Regions from separate parts of the Homo sapiens genome. Here regions 1 and 3 are each linked to region 2. Evidence: promoter capture Hi-C in 16 types of primary human blood cells and fetal thymus (Javierre and others, 2016). All regions are on one chromosome and are shown on one strand. Each heading gives the region's core, a stretch centred on a gene start or on the middle of the fragment in contact. The rest is flanking DNA. Distances are from core to core; before and after follow the strand shown.

The links. The method cuts DNA at HindIII sites, captures the fragments that hold promoters and counts their contacts. A CHiCAGO score of 5 or more calls a contact.
Region 1: a fragment that was not itself captured here is called in contact with the fragment with the promoter of RANBP9 in region 2 in 4 of 17 cell types (fetal thymus, total B cells, activated CD4 T cells and 1 more); the score reaches 10.0 in fetal thymus.
Region 3: a contact is called between a fragment that was not itself captured here and the fragment with the promoter of RANBP9 in region 2, in 5 of 17 cell types (activated CD4 T cells, naive B cells, total CD4 T cells and 2 more). The highest score is 8.7, in activated CD4 T cells.

Annotation. Positions count from the first base shown.
Region 1 is chr6:15,664,081-15,667,631 of GRCh38, reverse strand. No RefSeq gene overlaps it. Among named protein-coding and RNA genes, the nearest start is that of DTNBP1, 2.8 kb to the right of the region's middle. The HindIII fragment of the contact is 657 bases long and covers 1,973-2,629 here.
Region 2 is chr6:13,709,924-13,713,497 of GRCh38, reverse strand. It overlaps RANBP9 (RAN binding protein 9), which reads left to right and starts at 1,663. Exons shown (of 14, transcript NM_005493.3): 1 at 1,663-2,563. The coding sequence starts at 1,993. LOC124901264 (a long non-coding RNA gene) reads left to right here and starts at 744. Exons shown (of 2, transcript XR_007059462.1): 1 at 744-815; 2 at 957-1,146. RefSeq lists silencers at 1,159-1,928, 2,089-2,208, 2,289-2,338, 2,599-2,718. The HindIII fragment of the contact is 8,985 bases long and covers 1-3,574 here.
Region 3 is chr6:15,625,213-15,629,110 of GRCh38, reverse strand. It overlaps DTNBP1 (dystrobrevin binding protein 1), which reads left to right. Exons shown (of 10, transcript NM_032122.5): 5 at 1,636-1,768. Among named protein-coding and RNA genes, the nearest start is that of DTNBP1, 36 kb to the left of the region's middle. The HindIII fragment of the contact is 2,566 bases long and covers 1-2,547 here.

The DNA.
Region 1 (3,551 bases), core at 1,052-3,551, 2.0 Mb before region 2:
GTCCATGTGTTCTCACTGTTCAATTCCCACCAATGAGTGAGAACATGCGGTGTTTGGTTTTTTGTCCTTGCGATAGTTTGCCGAGAATAATGGTTTCCAGCTTCATCCATGTCCCTACAAAGGACATGAACTCATCATTTTTTTCACTGCATAGTATTCCATGGTGTATATGTGCCACGTTTTCTTAATCCAGTCTATCATTGTTGGACATTTGGGTTGGTTCCAAGTCTTTGCTATTGCGAATAGTGCCACAATAAACATATGTGTTCATGTGTCTTTATAGCAGCATGATTTACAGTCCTTTGGGTATATACCCAGTAATGGGATGGCTGGGTCAAATGGTATTTCTAGTTCTAGATCCCTGAGGAATCGCCACACTGACTTCCACAATGGTTGAACTAGTTTACAGTCCCACCAACAGTGTAAAAGTGTTCCTATTTCTCCACATTCTCTCCAGCACCTGTTGTTTCCTGACTTTTTAGTGATCGCCATTCTAACTGGTGTGAGATGGTATCTCATTGTGGTTTTGATTTGCATTTCTCTGATGGTCAGCGATGATGAGCATTTTTTCATGTGTCTTTTGGCTGCATAAATGTCTTCTTTTGAGAAGTGTCTGTTCACATCCTTTGCCCACTTGTTGATGGGGTTGTTTTTTTCTTGTAAATTTGTTTGAGTTCATTGTAGATTCTGGATATTAGCCCTTTGTCCGATGAGTAGATTGCAAAAATTTTCTCCCATTCTGTAGGTTGCCTGTTCGCTCTGATGGTGGTTTCTTTCGTACCACCCCTTCTTTAATAGCATCTTTCTCTTTGGTTCTAACTCCGCCAAATCCTCATTTATCACTTTGTCTCCAATAAGAATCTGCTGAGACAGGAAACCCCCTTTCATCAACGAGTAGGGCTTCTCAAATGTTAACATGAATAAAAATCACCCGGGGGGTCTTAATAAAACTCAGATTCTGATTCAGTAGGGCTGGCTGGGGCCTACGATTCTACCTTTGCAGGAAGCTCCCAGATGATGCGGCTGCTGCTGGTCAGGGAAGCACTATTTCAGGAAACTTCTTAGCAGCTTTGGTGCTCACCCCAAACGTTGTATCACCAAAGCTTTTCCTGGGCGCAACTAATATGCTCTCAAAAAATCAACTCTCTGCTGGGCGCGGTGGCTCATGCCTGTAATCCCAGCATTTTGGGAGGCCAAGGCAGGCGGATCACTTGAGGTCAGGAGTTTGAGACCAGCCTGTCCAACATAGTGAAACCTTGTCTCTACTAAAAATACAAAAATTAGCTGGGCGTGGTGGCGGAAGCCTGTAATCCCAGCTACCCAGGAGGCTGAGGCAGGAGAATCACTTGAACCCAGGAGGTGGAGGCTACAGTGAGCCAAGATTGCACCACTGCACTCCAGCCTAGGTGACAGAGGGAGACTCCGTCTTAAAACAAAACAAACAAAAAAACCCCAAACAAACAACAATCAACTCTCAACCAATTCCTGAATTAAGATTAGGTCAATAGCTTCCATACTGATGTTGGTTCTCAAACTGTACTTAAAAGCTTTGTTTTTTTTTTCATTTTGCCAATCCATCTTCCTAGTTTCTGGCTGATTACTGTTACTTATGTAAACACGACATGTCACATGCTTCAACTCTTGGTCCTTAATCATTCCTCCTGAGCAACTCATGTACAACAGTAGTTATTTTCTAATTTTTTTAATATTTACTTCTTTAAATCATAAATTATCTTTTTATTAGCACTTTTAAAACTTTCACTGTTTTTTAATTTAATAGATATGATGGAATTAAGAATGTTCAGAAAGCACCTCAAATACAAACATGCCATAGACTAATAAACAGTGCATTGGTCAAGACAGAAATGATCAGGCACAACCAGTAAAGCTATTTTTTAGTGACAGGCAAGAGTCTTTTTTGAGTGGATTTGGTGCTTTGTTGGAATGTATGAAACTTAGTAAATTGAAAGCTTATGTGTAGAGTTTAATTGAATAAAAGAAAAAAATTTAATATTTCCCAGTACTTGTGGTTTTCAAATCTACTAGATACTAAGGGACCTGTCTGTAGATTTGATCATTTGATCACTTGCTTTGTTCCAGGCACTGTTTCTGAGAGGTAGAAGAAGGCTCAATAAACAGCACTCCTCTTTCTTACTTGTCTGAGCAAACTGAGAAATAAAACAATAGTGTCAGCATAAAGAGGCCAAAATATCACTTTTATATCTAGGAAGACTGATGGAACACATGGCTTATATTCATGGGCAAGCAGAACTTCTAGTACCCAGTCACAAAAAGCACTGGGTTGCCCTTCAAGCCTGTCTTTAGGCAGCAGAATGAATGCTCTTTGTTGGAAGTGTTCACTCAACAAAAAGAAAAGAAGATGAGACCAAGCTCCTTACTTCTAGCTCACTAATCATCGTAGTCACCTCTTCCCCACCAGGAGAGGCTGGGTACTTCTTTATGTTAGCAGAAGAGCTCCCTTCCCATGGAAGAAAACATCAAGAGTGGGGAAGAGGTGGTCCCCCAGCTACAAGCTAAGTCCTTTATCTTATTTAACTCCTGCAACAAGACATTTACTGGGTGTCTGTTATGTGCCATTCACTGTTTTCATTGCTGGGGATGCAAAGCTTAATAAGACAGAGCAGTTTACATCTGGGCCTGTACTTGTGCTACTTACCTCACTGGCCTCATCCAATCCCAGCCCTAACAGATCCTGTGTATTTAAAATTTTGATATTTTGTTCATCACAGATTTTTTTTCATTAATTTTGAATTTTTTAAATATTGTATTAAAATATTACTTATCTTGATTACTGAGCTTTTTGGCTCCCGTAAATTTTGTACCTGAGGTGAATGCCTTATTTGTCGTGGTTTTAAAATATGTTTGTAAACAACTAAATTAATAAATAGCAAATAATTATTGAATAAATTTTCTAATGTGTACTAAGTTGAGAAACAGGCTACGTGATAGGAAGTGATTGGGTGTGTAACTTGAATGGTAAGTAAAACCTATCTAATGTGATGCTATTTAGGATGTGACCCTTATGTTATAAGGAGCCAGACAAGGGACAGTTTGGAGAAAAGTTTGTGAAAACACCACAGGTGGAAATAAACCTGGAATTTTCTAAGAACACACCAAAAAAAAAAAAAAAAAAAAGGCTATTATGTCTTAATTGTCAAGGACATGATAGGTGACTAGTAATCAATTTGGATACAGTGCTAGAAAACATTCAAATTTTAGGGCTTTTTAAGGGGGTAAGTAGTTTGAATTTTATTCCAAGTGCCCAGGAGGCAATTGGAAGATTTTAAGCAGGGGAGCAACGTGATCCGATTGATCTTTTAAATAACTCTTTCTGGCTGCTGTGTCAAGGATGGATTATAGGGGTGTGTATGGCAAAAGAGTAGAATCTGGAAGAACTGTCTGTGTTCCCATTGAAAGAGGATGGTGCCTTCGACCAGGATAAATATAGTGAAGATATAGAAAGAGAAGGAGGTTCCAGAAATACTTCAGGAGTAGAGTTGATTGGATTTGATGGGTTAATATGGGGAATG
Region 2 (3,574 bases), core at 414-2,913:
TTAGAACACTGTAAATACAGTGACATCATGTGATTCAAAGTGCAGTGGTTTAAAAAAAGTCATCAAACAACAGGTTAAAATTAATGGATATTTCTATCAAACTACAACAGAGGCCAGGCATGGTGGCTCACGCCTGTAATCCCAGCACTTTGGGAGGCTGAGGCGGGTAGATCACTTGAGGTCGGGAGTTCGAGACCAGCCTGGCCAACATGGTGAAACCCCGTCTCCACTACAAGTACAAAAATTAGCTGGGTGTGAGCACATGCCTGTAGTCCCAGCTACTTGGGAGGCTGAGGCAGGAGAATCGCTTGAACCCGGGAGGCGGAAGTTGTAGTGAGCTGAGACCACACAACTGCACTCCAGCCTGGGCGACAAAACAATAATAATAATAATAATAAAAGTACAACAGAACATCTAGTTGTCTGGGTAACTGAGGGAGAAATTAGGCCGAATGACTCTGTTATTTGTTCTGGCCAGATAATCTTGGCCTTAAATTAAATCACCTTTGGCCTACCTTCTTCAAAACGAAATAATTTTCTCTTCGGCAAAACATTTCTTATTTGACCAAATGATTACCATCATATCTTTGGAAGCAAACAAAATATCAGAATTTACATCACACAATTTACATATGCAAAGCCTGATTTTGCCAGCTAGGGAGGGATAAGCTAAACAAAGGGAAGTGGTGAAAACAAAGTAGTAATGTTATGATGGGTCAGAGAGCAACACTTGGCAAGTTGTGCCAAATTAGTCGACGAAGCATTCTATTGGGAATTGCAAAGTAGGAAGTCCTATTTTTGACTCTGCTGATCTCGGTAAATATTTCCTTGTTTTAAAAATGGGCATAATTTTCTGTTACCTAAGAACCCTGTTATGAAAATTAACGAGTCTATAAAATGTTCTGACGTCTCTAGAAGCCCTTCCTAAACACACACTATAATCTTGTATTCATACAGTGCCTGCTCCTGCTTTTTGAAGATATGCCGGTCTTTATTAATGACATCTTCTACCACTGTTAAGTTCACTGTGAGTCCTCGTAAAATTAATTAATGAAACAGTCACTATTCTAAGTGGGAGACTGCCTTCAGAAGTGGTTTCTACTGCCCATATGGTCAATGCTACGGAATTAAACACTGAAGTACCAAAGGCAATGCGTTCCTCTTTGGAGGGAGGCGGCAAACGGGAACGGGACTGAGGCGAGAGCTAGCAGCACTGCGCGGGGAGCCTGAGCCGCTCCGCACGCCCCGGGCCGACGGGTCCTAGAGCGCCCCGGGGCCTGGGCTCGCGGCGGCCCCAGCGGGGCTCGATTACTCTCGCCTGGACGAGAAGCGGCGCCTCGGCTCCGAGGAGCCCTACGGTGGGGAGGTGGGGCGACGACAACAAAAAGAAGTCAAGTGGGAGGGGATTCGCCGGCGAGGGGGGCGACGGCGGCCGCCAAGGGAGAGGAGGCGGACACCTCCGAAGGGACCTGCGGCGCCGGGAGCCCAGCGATCCTGCCCACGAGCGACTGGCGGGCCCGGGAGGACGCCTCGCGGCGCACAGCCGGGAGCCCCGCGGCCCGCCCCCTCGCACCGCTCGCGCCTCTCTCGCGCCTCCGTCCCGCCCCCTCGCCTAGCGCCGCCCGCGCGCAGCGTCTCGCGCCGGCCCGGCCCGCCCGCCGGGAAACAGCCGCGAGAGCAGCGGCCGCGGCGGCCGCCAGCGCGCCTTCCCCTCCCGCGCTCCCGCGTCGCCCCCGCCCTCGGCGCCTCGTCCCCGGGCCGCGCGCCCGCGCTCCGGCCAACGTTCTCTCCCGGCCTCCCGGGCCCGCCGCCTACTCCCGCGTCTCCGAGCTCCTCAACCGCCGCGGTCTCCCTGGGCGCGCGGCCCGCCGCCTGCTTCCGGGGCGGGCGGACTGGGCGCCTGGTGCCGGCGGCCGCAGCGACAGCGCCCCCGGGAAGCAGAGGAGGAAGGAGAGAAGAGGTGGAGGTGGCCGCAGGCTGAGTCGCGGCCGGGATGTCCGGGCAGCCGCCGCCGCCGCCGCCGCAGCAGCAGCAACAGCAGCAGCAGCTGTCGCCGCCACCGCCGGCGGCCTTGGCCCCAGTCTCCGGAGTCGTCCTGCCGGCGCCCCCGGCCGTCAGCGCCGGCTCTTCTCCGGCCGGCTCGCCCGGCGGCGGTGCGGGCGGCGAAGGCTTAGGGGCCGCGGCGGCCGCCCTGCTCCTCCACCCTCCGCCGCCGCCGCCCCCGGCCACCGCGGCCCCGCCGCCCCCGCCGCCGCCCCCGCCTCCCCCTGCCTCAGCGGCTGCCCCCGCCAGCGGGCCGCCCGCTCCCCCGGGCCTTGCAGCGGGCCCCGGCCCGGCTGGAGGAGCCCCGACCCCAGCTCTGGTGGCGGGCAGCAGCGCCGCGGCCCCCTTCCCTCACGGGGACTCGGCCCTGAACGAGCAGGAGAAGGAGTTGCAGCGGCGGCTGAAGCGTCTCTACCCGGCCGTGGACGAACAAGAGACGCCGCTGCCTCGGTCCTGGAGCCCGAAGGACAAGTTCAGCTACATCGGCCTCTCTCAGAACAACCTGCGGGTGCACTACAAAGGTACTGGGCGTGTGTCCTGCGGTGGGAGTGGGGCACTGACCCGACGTGGCCGGCCGCCGCTGCGCCGCTCTCGACCCGCCCCCGACCCCCGCCCTCGCGGGCTCTGCCCTCGGAGGCCACTCGCCGCCTGTTGTGCTGCTCCGGGTGGGCGCGGGGGTCGCGGTGAAGGGTCCGAGGGTGAGGGGCGAGATTCTTGGAAAAGGAAGGTGAGTAGAATGCCCCAGGGTAGAAAGGAGCTGGTAATCCTAGACCAGGAGCAGGACACCTTGAGGGAATCCGGGATGACAGGACAGAACTGGCTTTCTGATTTCCCTGGGAGATAAATCTTGGGGCTTGGGTAGAGGAATCCATGGACTCGGAGTTGGGTTACATTGTTCTCCAGGTGGTGGGTCAGGCGTTCTCCTCTTACAAGGGGGGAAGAGAGGCACGATTCTGAGGTATGATTTCTAATTAAGAGAGAGCAGGGATACACAGGGGGAGGAGTAATCAAAATTAGGCCAGAGATTGTCTAGGGGGACAAAAGGACAAGGGGCCCAAGTTTGCCATCAATATATTTTAGTAAAAGCAACCGGGAGGGTAAGAGAAGGGAACCCCAGGAACACCCTTTTTCTTAGGGGAGCAGAAACCTACCCCTCCCGATTGGAAGTGCCCTATACAGGTCCTTAGGTGTTGATATCACATGAAGTCTTGTTGAAAACGAAGATGGAACAAAATGCAGCTTAGTATTTTGAAGAAAATTGGCTTATGTTTTGCACTTGCAGTTAAAAACAACAACCTTAGGCTTGTGCTTGCCCCTTTCCTCCCTCACCTACCTCTCCTAGGTTAAAACAAAGCTGGAAGCAAATCAGTTGTATATAAAATTATGAATTGCTATGGGAACTATTGAAATGTAGCCCAATTTAATAGCATGTATCAAGTTTACTTGTGTGGAAGAAAAAAAAATCAACCTAACGTATCAGTCTTGTCTGGAAACAAATCCAGGGTTTTAGGCCCCAAACCTAAAGCAGAAGC
Region 3 (3,898 bases), core at 15-2,514, 1.9 Mb before region 2:
TTAGCTGTTTTTTCAGTATGTTTTAAGCTACTTTTAAAGATTTTTTTTAAAGACCAGTTGGCAACAGACATTTTTAAATACACAAAAATAATGAGAAATGCGGTTTGCGTGAAACTTGATGTGGCCTCCCAGCTCAGTTGAGGCTTGAATGTGAGAGATTATGTGTTTATCCCTCCAGCGTGGGCTGAGAAACCACAGGGAGATGTGTCATAGCTTAGTTCTTTATTTCAAATGAGAATTCCTACTATAGTGAAATGTACGAACAAAAACAATCTAGTACTACATACAAATAATTTTGTATCTTTGATATATTCATTCCTCCAAAGTTCTTTCTTAATTTATTAAGTGGAACTTAGTAAGAATCAGTTGTATTCAGATTCTAACTCTTAAAGAGCCTTAATCCTGGCCGGGCACAGTGGCTCATGCCTGTAATCCTAACACTTTGGGAGGCCAAGATGGGTGGATTGCTTGAGGCCAGGAGTTCAAAACCAGCCTGGCCAACTTGGTGAAACCCTGTCTCTACTAAAAATACAAAAAATTAGCCGGGTGTGGTGGTAGGTGCCTGTAGTCCCAACTACTGGGGAGTCTGAGGCAGGAGAATCGCATGAACCTGGGAGGCGGAGGTTGCAGTGAGCCAAGATAGCACCACTGCACTCCAGCCTGGGCAACAAGAGCGAAACTTCGTCTCAAAAAAAAAAAAAAAAAAAAAAAAGAACCTTAATCTTGAGATGTACAAATTGTCTGTTTTGAATACTCAAATTCATTTTCTTCTGTCATATAATGGGTTTTGTTACCTTTATTTTTTATCGTACAGATTATGGAGTTTTTTCCACAGTTCTTGCTTATTCATGTTGATATTTTCAAAAGATCACCTCTTCTTGCTCCTTCTAAGTCTTTCTAGGCCCTTGTCCCTCCCACTATGTTAAGACCAAAACAGAATTGTCTGGGAGAAACTAATGTCTGTCATTTTCTTTATAGTCTTTAGCAAAAGAAGTTAGAATTATCTTAGGCTATTCTAGAATTTCACAACCTTGCTATTAGGAACCCTTTACATCTGCTGAATTCCTCATTAACTTAAATCATTTCCTCTTTTTCTGGAATTCTGGAATTGGCCAGTTTCCTCAAAATTCCTTTATATACTTTATGCAATAAGTATTCCTGTTTAAATGTAAATTGAAACATGGTATATTCTAAATGTATTAGGGAACTTTTCTTTGAAGACTTCCTTTCGTAAAGCCAATAATTACCCGTTAATTATGTTTTATGTTTGTTTTCTTTTTGGTTGTTAGTGGTAGTTTTTTGTTTTTGTTTTTTTTTTTTCTAGATTTAGCTTTTCAAATACATGGTCTGCTTAAAACAGGGTATACTTAGAAGTGACTTCTGAAGTCATTTTTAAACTTTCTCTTCTGTGGGTTAAGATGCACTGATACAAGCAGTAATTGGAGGTTTCCTGCACTGAATATTAAGTTGTTTCTTTTCTAAAAATGAAAACAACTTCAGTCTCTTTTAGAATGTACCGTAATCTCTACTGAGTAGAGGGGTTGTTAAAGATAACATTAAATCTCATTACGTTAACTGTACTTTCTTTGTGCCTAAAACCTGGTTTCACTTTACCCCCCTTCTTGTGTGCTGCAGCTGGTGGATAGCGAGGTGGTCATGCTTTCTGCGCACTGGGAGAAGAAAAAGACAAGCCTCGTGGAGCTGCAAGAGCAGCTCCAGCAGCTCCCAGCTTTAATCGCAGACTTAGAATCCATGACAGCAAATCTGAGTAAGTCCAATGTTTTCATTGTACATTACTTTTAGGAATGAAAACAACTTGGGCAGGGTTTGGTGTAATTTCAGAGCTTTTCAGGAACACATGAAATTCTGGGTTAACAGGATTTTTTGGAAAATCATGATTTCATATTTTGATTAGTTGAGGATTCCACAGAAAATGATGTAAAGTGTAGAAATTAGTTCTGTTTCTGCCTCAGGTCAGCTCCGGACACATAATTATAATTATGTTGATTCTTAAAGTGACTCAGGTTGTCTTTGTTGACATTTGGTCTCTGTTTAAAAGCATACATATAGAAAATGGATTAGGTGACTTTGTCCTTACTGTAGAATGTATTCCAGAAATTGTTGCTTTTAAAATTTAGATATGCTAGAACTTCATGTCTTGTAGTGTATTTTTTTCTCTTCAAACGGATTGGAGATCAAACAAACCTGGTTAAATGAGGGTACTTGTGCTGGGTGTGGTGGCACGTGCCTGCAGTTGCAGCTATTCTGGAGACTGAGGCAGGAGGAGTGCTTGAGCCCAGGAGTTTGAATCCAGCCTGGGCAACATAGTGAGACCTTGTCTCAAACAACAACAACAACAAAGTAAATTAGGGTACCTGTTTGGCTAAATTTATACTCTGTGGAAATTTATTTTTTTGTCGTTGTTCATTTGGATGGATTATGTTGGTATTCTTTTTTTCTTGGGTTTATATTCAGAAAATTATCTTTTATGTTTGATGATGCCACATCTAAGGATAATATTGCAGCTTACTATTTCCTAATCAAGCTTAAGATCTTAGTAAAGTAGGAGGTAGGAGCTGTCTGTATGAGCTAATAACCTGTTTTAGTCTTTTAGGTGGGAAGCTAAAGATACCCTATTATCTCCTCCTGTTTTTAATATTGCCTTATTCAAAGCAAAACATGACTGATTTACAAGGCAAGTAATTGGCAAGTCATAAGACAGTTTTTTGTGTGTGAACAAAATAGATACGTAGTATTTGGAGTGCTGTTGCTGATAACAGTAGCTAATGTTTATAGCACCTACTGTATGTCAGAGATGATTAGATGATTTACAGATACTATCTGTAATTCTCACAAGAACCCCACAAAAGTAGCTTTTATTATTCCCAATTTACAGATAAACTAAGGCTTGGAGAGGTTGCAACTTGCTCAGAATCATAAAATTTATAAATGCATCTAGGATTCCAACCACATTGATGATATCCTCAATATCAGTATGAGGCAGTAGGATGAGGTGATGAGGCAGTGGGATGGGAGCTCTCAGTAGGTCTCTATGAACTGTATTCTTCAAGTCCCCTGGCTGTTGCCATGCCTTTCAGGGTCAGTGTTTTGTTATTTCTGAAGGCAGGGCATGGAAAAGAGATTCTGGGTCTTAGAAAAGTGTAAAATGGCTGTGATTGCCGTCTGCATTGGTTTCCTCTTACAGGTATAGTAATGGTCCTTCCCAAGCCTTGGACATAGCCTTTAAGATGTTCGGAACATTCTTCTTAGCCACTTTCTTTCAGCTCATCTTCCTGTATCTCTTTGAGTCACTTGCTTTTCATTGGTTGTATGTTTCTTTGCAGACATGTTCTCTTATGATAACCTCTTTTATTTCCCCAGCTGAGAGTAAATCTGTTTACGGATAGTTGTTGTTTGCTTAATACCACTCTATTGATTAAATGCATTCTGCCACAGTTCTCATTATTTTCATAGTCAATTCTGTTTAGAAAATGCAGTCTCTATAAGTCTTTCATAGAATATATTGTATGTTCGTTCCCAATTAGGATTCTAATATCCTGAAAAATGTTTGATGTTTAGTGACACATGACCTTATTCTTCAGAAACTGCATTTTGGCTTCTTAAATGCACAAGGTAGGCCTTCCAAATGTTCACTTGAATCCTCTCTTTTTTAGTAATCTGAGAACATCTAACACTAAAGACAAATGAAAGCTAAAACATTATCTGATATACTGTTCTGGTTAATCACTGCTAAATTAATTTGAGTCATTTTTTTCCTCTCATCTATGTCTAACCGATATTGAGCTCTTTTTAGAGAGTTAGTTCAGTTTTTTTTAGAAGGTATGTCTGGATGGTTGCTTTTCATATATATTGCCAATCTGAATTATCTGTTAGCCTT